Linked DNA regions of Homo sapiens: region 2 is linked to region 1. Evidence: promoter capture Hi-C in human tissues and cell types (Jung and others, 2019). All regions are on one chromosome and are shown on one strand. Each heading gives the region's core, a stretch centred on a gene start or on the middle of the fragment in contact. The rest is flanking DNA. Distances are from core to core; before and after follow the strand shown. Region 1 holds the start of METTL24 (methyltransferase like 24). Region 2 overlaps METTL24 (methyltransferase like 24).

Region 1 (4,607 bases), core at 1,440-3,939:
CAGCACTACAGCAGGTGTCCAAGTTGAAATGCATGTTGTTTAGGAGATTAGAAATGTTCTGTTTCACACATTTTTCTGGCTAAAACCTCTAGGAGGATGTAATCTGTGATCTGATGAAAGCCGCTATTGTGGTTTACTGACCTGCTTGTTTAATTAACCAGCCTATGACACAGCGGTTAATGATTATCTGCATTTTTGAGACACATCCAGAAAGGACTGAGACAAGTTCAACTCTATAAGAAAAGCAAAGGTCGTGAATGAAAGATTGCTTGTCAGCTACAACAGTGATCCATTAGATTTGCCTCTTCAGCCCACAGACTGACCCATTTTACTATTCATTATCATCCACCACACAGGAAAACACTGTGTGGAAGTTAAAAATAGGTTTCTTCCAGAAAATTGATGCTACATACATATAAACGGTTCTTTTTTATTAGTAATAAACACATAGACATAAACACAACTGCAAAAGATAAAAGGCTATTTAAATATTCCATGTAATTTGAATTTTTTTCCATAATGAAAACATTTTATTAGAGAACTGTAGAAATGAGATAAAGGAAAATATGAGGTCATCCTGCCCATTCTCTTCAAGAGCTACACTGTTTTGTATGCACCCCCACTCCATCCTCCACCCCCAGCCCAGAGTCTTATTAAATATCCCCATTTTAATAATATAGGAGAGTGCTTATGCTTCCCCACCCACCCCCAGAGAGAAACTCAACAGAGGAGCAGAGGGTACGCACTAGTGGCACCATGATCTTCAAAATATGACTTCTCTAGTTAGCGGCACTGTGTTGACTGCATAGAAAATAAAACTTCCAGCAAAGTCTACATCAGACATTACCAATCCAGGTTTATCAAGCACCCTACAAACTCTGTCTTAAAGAGCCTTATACAACTTAACAGAGTTCGTTTCTTGATGATTAATTGTTATTTTCTTGAAATTATTGGGTACTCTGAATTCCAGAGAATGCTGTATAAATTATTTGTAAATTTCCTTATACTTTATCTTTGCCCACTTTGGAATCAATGCTTACCTTTTGTTTTTCATGACAACATCCAGGATTTTCTTCCATGGTAAATAACAAAATAATTACTATTGAGACCCTTCTGTGAGCCAGTATTATTTGGGCATGAAACATATAATATTTTATGCAACATTTATAATCCTGCCATATATATAGATCTGTTTATTCATGGGAAAACGGAAACTCAGAGAGGTCCAGTACTTCGTTGAAAGTCTCATAGTGCTTGAACGGCAGGGTCCTGGTTCAAACACAGTTCAAGTAAATAGTCACAGGATGTGAGGCTGGCTCTCAGTTTGTGTAAGGAAAAACTCGTACTTGTTTAAATTTGTTAAAATAGAACCCATCTGCAATATCCCCTGGACTCATCTAAGAAAAAAGCAAAAGTCAATCCTAATGGAACGTTCAGGAGCCTGAGGATCTGGTGTGGCCAGGGGGTGGACTAGACTGGGTGGAGATATTTTGTTACATGTAGAGAAACAGCCCAAGTGCTTTGTTCACTAGCAGGGAATAAATTGGGTCTTTCTTAAGCCAGGAAGAGAAGAGGATTTTAGAGACGAGGGCTTCCTACGGAAAATACCCAACATTCAAAAGGGCAGGGGGGTAGGGCCCCATATTTGTTCTCTCTTGTCCATGCTGTAGGCTGTTACGGGGGAAGAGGATAGGTCTACAGGCGCAGTCTCCCATGGAAGCATGGAAAATGCAAGAGTAAAGCAAGGAAAAAAAGAAAAGTGACTACAGCTTAAAAAAATCTAAACCCAAACTCAAACCTAAAACCCAAACCCACCCCAAATGGGTTGTGGGAAAGGATTCTACTAACAATTGAAAATGGAACATCCACCACTGGACTTCAGGCTGTGAGAGTTCAGTCTGATTAATTAAGGTCAAGGTGGTGATGGAAATACCAGCTGGGGAGCATTTTGCCGAAAGATAAATTTGTCCCTCTGTATTTCTGCGAGACAGCAGGGAGGTGTGTGTTTGGAGCTAAATTAATTTGATTTACATCATGCCATGGTAACTTCTGTTCTCTCTCCCCCCTCCTCACCAACCCGCTGTCAGATGTCTTAGCTGGCTTTTTCCCTCTTCTTCTTCACCCCCACACATTTCATAACACGGAAAGAAAGCACGAATTGGCTTCAGGCAGAATTTAGACATAGAATAACTCTAATTTGATTATTCTGCATTGAGTGCTATTCTCTTCGCCCCCCAATCCCTTTCTTTCTTGAGAGAGAGAGAGAAGTTGTAAGCCCGGGCATAAGTGCTATTTATTTTTATATTGTGCTTAATGGTGCAAACTGCTTGACTGTTCCTTGTATGCTCACCTACCCTCCTCCTGTGTTTCTCCAACAACACTAATACCAGAAAATGAAGTTATGGCCCGGGATCCCGTTAGGAATGCGCTTTTTCTGGCCCTATGTCTTTCAGCTCCGTCAGGCTTTGGAGGCCGGGGCGGAGGGCACCTCTTGAGGGACCCTGTACAGCCGGGCCCTGGCACCTCCGGAGGGGCGGAGAGGGCCCCCTGTGACCGCGTTCGGCCCACCACCGTTCCAGCGGCGGGGCGCGCTCGGCAGGGCAGGATAAGGTTACGCCGGGGCTTCCTCGGTCGGGAGGGAGGGAGGCGGGTCCGAGCCCGCACCCCGGCCCGCGGGGGAGTTCCCACAGTTGGCCGCTCCGGCCTGTGGGGCTACATCCCTGCTGCCGGCCAGGCGCGGCCCGCGGGACCCCGAGTGTAGCGCCATGGCCCGGGAGAGGCCGCCCGGGAGGGGCTGCGGCGTCCTGCGCCGGTGTCTACTCGGGGCTGTGCTGTTGTTCGGCCTGCGGCTCTGCGCAGAGCTGCGGCGCGCCGGGCCCGGGTCCCCCACCCGCAGCGCCCCGCCGGGCCCGGCCTGGCGGCCACCTGGGCCGCACCTGCCGCCCGCGCCGGGCCAGCCGCGCGGCGCCAGCAGGAGGCAGGTGACCTACGTGCGCAGCGGTCGCCGGGCGCCGCCGGGGGGCGGCGGGAGCGGGACGCCGGAGCCTGGCTGCTGTGCCCCGCGCGGGCGCCCCCGCCGGAAGGTCAGTTGCAAAGCGGTCGGTCTTGGGCCTGGGACCAGAAGCCCCCTCCCGACCGCGCTACGGAGCCCGGCGCTCAGGTCCCGCAGGCCGCCTCGATGGGACCTCCGGAGGCTTCCGCTTCTTCTCTTCCCCCTGTGCTCTCTTAGGCGGCTCCACGGGTCGCATCTTTCAGTGCCCAGATAGACTGAAGTGCGGCCAAGCGGAGTTCATTCACTATTCAGCCAGTACTTGGGGGTCGCCGTGGCCGGGCGCCCTTCTAGGCTCCGCGCATCCCGTGAAGAAGGACGGAGCCCTGTTCTCACGGAGGATACACTTTAGTAGGGGAGTGTTTGCGTGATAGGCAGGGAAAGGGAAAGGGAAAGGAAGGCGTTGTGGCTGCCATTGATGTGCTGTGCTGCTCCCAGCCTTCTGCTTAAGGCCTGGACAGAGTTGGGTGGGTATCGCCGTGAATGGCCTGTCCACGCCACTGCCTTCATCTCGCTGAAGATCCACCAGCTGGCCGAATTTCCCTGGAGTCTCATTCCAGGCGTTGGCTGGGGGCTGGGAGGCTGGCGCCAGTTGAGAAGCCGAGCACCCAGCCCCACTTAATGAGAAGTTAATTGGATCCTCGAGGACCCAAGTAATAACCTGGGTTTGTCTTATAACTCTCGACCGTGTTGTGCCTCCTACCTCATTAACTTCTTGGCTTACACCTCACTGATTAGTCCATTTTTAGCCTCTGATTGTTAAGGTTTTGGGCTCATCTCCTTTTTGGAGCTCGGTAATTTGCGTCGTACATGGAAATGAAAAGAACTACAGGTATGAGCTCTCCTCATCCTTTTACCCATCAACTCCTGCTTCCAGCCTCAACCACGTTCTCCAAAGCAACTACTTTCCGTTGCCCGGCTGTTCCTCGTTTCTTTTAGACATCCACCCCAACCTCCACCCCGCTTCCCATCACCGGTCCTGGAGGGGAGGGAACAACTCTTCCTTTGCCTCGCTGCTGTCTTCGGCTGCCCAGTGCTAGCCTACTTTTCAGCACCACAACCCAGCACTCCTGCCGGGCTTCACTTCCTCGCTTCCTTCGGGCCTCGCCCTCCGTTTTTCCACACCACTGCTGTTCCTTGCTGGGCCATCGTGCTAACTTCCTGGATAAACTGAAATACCTTTTTCTATCTCGCAAACCTCACCTCCTGTGTAAAGTCTTGATTAGATCTTCCAGAAGAAAGCAGCCACTTCCTCTCCAAGTTCCTAATTCACTGTCCGTGATACCATGTTAAACATTCAGCACAGTTTTGCCAAGGGCTTACCAGGTAGGCATCTGGTGCTGGAGGCACAAAACGAGTTCAGATTCTCGTGGGGGAGGCTCTTAGCACAGGCATCCGGTGATTTCCAATCCTGTAATTGAGGCCTTCAGCTCTGCCTGGGGAGTCAAGAAAGGCTGCTCAAGGCGGGGGACATATTTGAGTTACAATGTGATGTTTCTTTCTTTTCTTTTTCTTTTCTTTTCTTTTCTTTTTCTTTTTTTTATTTGAGCCGGAGTCT
Region 2 (4,607 bases), core at 569-3,068, 60 kb after region 1:
GGAGTTCGAGACCAGCCTGGGCAACATGGTGAAACCCCGTCTCTACTAAAAGTACAAAAGTTAGCCAGGCATGGTGGGGCACACCTGTAATCCCAGCTACTTGGGAGGCTGAGGCAAGAGAATTGCTTGAACCCTGGCGGCAGAGGTTGCAGTGAGCTGAGATCACGCCACTATGCTCCGGCCTGGGTGATGGAGCCAGACTCCATCTAAAAAAAAAAAAAAAAAGCATGTCTCGGTGGATGATCTCTGAACTGAAGGCTTATTTTAGTTAATTAAAATAAGGTAAATAATTATTATCCACTGAACTTGTGTATTTCCAGATTATGCAATAGTCAGTCATCCCTCCGTATGGGGTTGGCGGTTGGTTCTAGGCCACCCTCTCCCCACCAACGGATACCAAAATCCACGAACTATCAAGTCTGGGTGTGGAACTCACAGATACAAAACATTCGCCCTTCATATCAGTAGGCTCCTGCATCCTATCAATGCTGTATTTCTGATCCATGTTGGTTGAATTTGTGGACGTGGAACCCACAGCTATGGAGGGCTCACTGTATTTATTGAAAAACATCCACTTACAAAATACTTGTAGAATCTATGAGAATGAAGTATTTCTGCACTGGGTTTAGGTTCGGCCAAGTAGTGTAGCTACTCTGTGGGATTTTGGTATCCTAAATCACATATGAGTACAGTATTGGGGCAGAAAAGCCATAATCACCATTAAAAAAATCATTCTCAGTTAATTTCATGCTTTTCATTAAAACTGGTGTTTTAATCAAAGTGACGATCCTTGCACCATTAAATAGGGAATATTTCTGAGTCAATTCAATATTTGGAAGTTTATTATTTTCCGTATGGTGTGCTACCTATTGAGTACTTAAGTACAATTAATTCATAATTTCTTCCCCTTTTGATGTGAATTTAGGTGAGGAAACCGTCTGCTTCTTGAGTTTTGGATGCAGTAGAATCACATACATTTGCCTTTTTTCTTATTTGCACTATTTAAAAATATATTACATTTCTAAGAAAACAGCTGTTGTCTTTAAGTCAAATTGCATACACAACACTGTGGCCATTAGAATGGAGACAAATTACCTCATTAGTAGAACACATCTCTCCTCAAGAGAACTAATCCTGGGGCTTATATTTGTGGACATATTCTAAGAAAATCTAAGACTACTGGATAGTCTTCTTTGTTTCATTGCTACTGTGATTTACATCACTTAAAAAAAAAACAATTTGATGATGCGCCTACATGTTTGAGTATGTGATTCTCTGGTCTTTGTCTAGCAGATAATTTATCTTTTATCCAGAAGCTTTGAGCAATAATGCTTTTTTGTGAAAGAAAGTTTATTGAATGTGTACATTAGCCATGGGTTAAAACAGGAGAAGGCTTGATATAACTAAGAACCTTGGCCTTGGAACTGTCATCTTGTTAGTCCAACACTTTGCTTCATTGCATTTTTTGTTGTTGATTTCCGTCCTCTTTCTTTATAGGCTAGGAAGTGATGATACCCATTTTGAGGTTAGCATGGCCAACAACGGATGTGAAGTGCATCGTTTTGATCCTAGTGTCAAGTCAGCTCACATTCTGGAGAGTCAGCACCTTTGGTATCACCGCTTGTCCATTGACTGGCGGGATCCCCATCCAGCTGTTGCTGCCCAAAAACCACATAGCAACACCAGAAAACTGGGAAGCATTTTGAATGAATTTGGACATCACAAGGTGAGGTTTTTCATTTGATTTTATACTTGAATAAAGTAAACAAACCCATCAGCTTTTTAAAATGCAAACCAAGAATAGCAACATTGACATTGGATAGCTGAAGGTCCGATTTTAATCTTACTAATCACCCAACATTATTTATAGAGTCAACTCTAGACATAAAGTGTTGGCAAGGATAGAGATATTTAAGTTGATGTGAAGATTTTAGTTGCTGTTGAGTAATGTTAATGGTCTTGTCCAAGACTAGGCAAGAAGACTAAGAAACTTACTTCTGGCACAGGCTGAAGAATACCATTTTCATTTGGCAACTGACTTACACTTTCCAGAAAGAGCAAACTACTTATGTTGACCTCAAATACAAAAAAAAAAATCGGGGTTATGTTTACTAAGATATTGCTTGTGTATCATGTTTCTCACTGTTGTGACATGTTTCTCACTATTTTGAACGTCTAGGCTCTACACAGAAAATATATATAGCTTTGATTAAGATTTACTTTATAAAATTGAATGGACATGTACATTACAAATTATATAATTATACCAAAGGATGTCAAATCTCTGCAAACATTTTATTATGAATGGACAGCAAAAAAGAAACAATCTTTGAACTGTGTTCTTTGAAAGCAATTTTTAGTGTAGTATACCCGAGCTAACTGTATTCTGTAGGCAGATACTAGAGAATTTCTCCTGAGTGCAGTTGGCTTGTGTTTGATCTTCAGCCTTTCTTGGGTTTGGCTATTTTGGCCTGTGTTCCCAGCCAGAGATGCCATGTGATTTAGAACAGGTCAGAATGGGTGTTTCTGTTTGAGAAACAGTGTGCCTGAGACTCAATTTTAAACTTGAGTTGGCTTCTTGATTTTCAGTAAGAAGCTTTTCCCTGCATTGCCGTTCCTCCTCCTCCTCCCCTCTTCCTCCCTTTTCTCTGCCTCCTTTCTTCATCTTCCTCTTCCTTGTCCCTCCTCCCCCTCTTCTTCTTCCTCCTCCTCCTCTTCATCCTTTAAACAACCTTTAGATAGCCCATGCTTCTTCAAGAACAACTTCAAAGAATTTGCTGTTCTTTTAACACGCAATTAACTATTAATTTGTATTTTGCTTTGCCACCAAGGGTAACTGGTGGCATTTAATAGTCAGGAGCCTTAGTGAGACACATATAGGATTTTTGGGTAAAATCTCAGAAGAGAACTCCTTTTTACATGCTGTTAATGTTTTTCATATGTGTGGGAAGAAGCAGAAGCATTTTTCAGAACTTTATTTAGGGTTTTGTTTTTTTCTTTTTTGCCACTCGTTACCTTTGTAGATCTGTTTTTTACAGCTGAGAATTACAGGCCTAATTCTCTAATATGTCAACTTTAGATTATTCAAAGAGTTAACTACTTATTCTTTGTGTTCAGTTAGGAGTCTTGCTGTTCCTGCTTTATGCTCTTTACATCCTAGCCCTCTCCAGCACCACTCTTCAAAGAAAAGACTGAGTAGGAGAAAAAGAGAAACTCAATGCCATTTTGCTTATTTTTTTCCCCAATAATACTGTAGCAAAAGATTTGGTAAAGGTGAGGATAAAATAAGACTTTGAAAAAGTGATCTGCGGATATAATTTATCTAATTTTAGATAACAAGGTATGTACCTGAATTGTGTTTGTTTAGCTCCATGGGAGCTGCAGTGGGCCAACTTTTATGCTAAGGATAAAGCATGAGACCTTTTGCAATGCTGCTCCTGAGATAGCAGAAATATTTACAATGATGCCTAGAAAGGAGAAATGCTTATGTTTCTAAGGTTACTTATTTTTTAAAAAAATATTTACAATGAAAGTGATCTGGCACAGAATTGCCAGGAATGCATTTGCTCCTTTTTTGTTTTAATTCCTTGTTGAAGAATTTAAAAGATATTGATATTCTTCCATAGAGATTTTTTTTTGGTGAATGCTTTAAAACAAAAACAACAAAACTAAACCCGTCAGCGAGTGATTGCTTTCCTTAGGAAAATGCTTCTAGGAGCTATGCGGGGCTAGATAAATGGAAACCTTGTTTGTGTCGTGTAGCAAGCACGATCTGTTTTCATTTTTCTGTATGTACAGACAGTGGTAAATAGGATGTGGCTGCGGCAGGGGAAGCAAATAGTAAAAAACACGCTAACAAATGTCAGCGTTTCTGCCTTCACACCTTCACTCATTTATTCTGAAAGTGAGTGTAGAAACCAAAGCGTTTTTAGCTGTTTTATTTCAGAACTTTAAAATATCTCATATAGTTTTGTAGTAATTTCCCTATTCCGCTGTTAGTTTTCCTATTCTGTATATCCATACGTAGATTCCAGCCACTCAAGAAAAAATATGGGCAAAAATGAAAGCAGTATTCTGAGATAGTGACAGAAAGATGCAAATGGCTTTTGTACTGCTTTTAAAACTCTTTGGTAATTTTAACCTCAAACTATAAATCAAAAGCCTGTTCTAAAGCATCAGGCTAGAGCAGCTGCATCAGCAAAACCATGTGGATTAGAAGCCCAGTCTGTCAGGGAGTAATATCACTTGGATCCAGCATTATGTGAAATGATTAACTGTCTACTCTTTGCAGAAGTGGTTATTGTTAACTAAGCATACAGTTTTTTCAGAATGCAACTAGAAATATTGAATCTGAAGTTTCTGCTCATATTAATCATAATGTATAGTTTTTTTCTAAAGTCTTTCTTACTTTAGACTTTGTTACATTCAGAGTATCCTCAATGATCCGAGCTAGTTAATGAGGAATTATAGCTATTATTTTTGGTCTTAACCATGCTGCTGATAACTCTGAATAACAGAGCTGCCTGAGGGTTTCTCTATGTAAGCTCATTAATCTAGGTTTGAAGCATGGTCCTCTTATTGGCTTTTGGCGTTGGGCGAGTCATTTA

What was found. Contacts are between HindIII fragments. The study calls those that stand out against the background at their distance.
Region 2: a fragment that was not itself captured here is called in contact with the fragment with the promoter of METTL24 in region 1 in 1 of the 25 tissues and cell types used here (dorsolateral prefrontal cortex).

What each region holds. Positions count from the first base shown.
Region 1 is chr6:110,356,431-110,361,037 of GRCh38, reverse strand. METTL24 (methyltransferase like 24) reads left to right here and starts at 2,689. Exons shown (of 5, transcript NM_001123364.3): 1 at 2,689-3,083. The coding sequence starts at 2,766. RefSeq lists an enhancer at 58-352. The HindIII fragment of the contact is 11,777 bases long and covers 1-4,607 here.
Region 2 is chr6:110,296,041-110,300,647 of GRCh38, reverse strand. It overlaps METTL24 (methyltransferase like 24), which reads left to right. Exons shown (of 5, transcript NM_001123364.3): 4 at 1,498-1,726. Among named protein-coding and RNA genes, the nearest start is that of METTL24, 60 kb to the left of the region's middle. The HindIII fragment of the contact is 5,139 bases long and covers 1-4,387 here.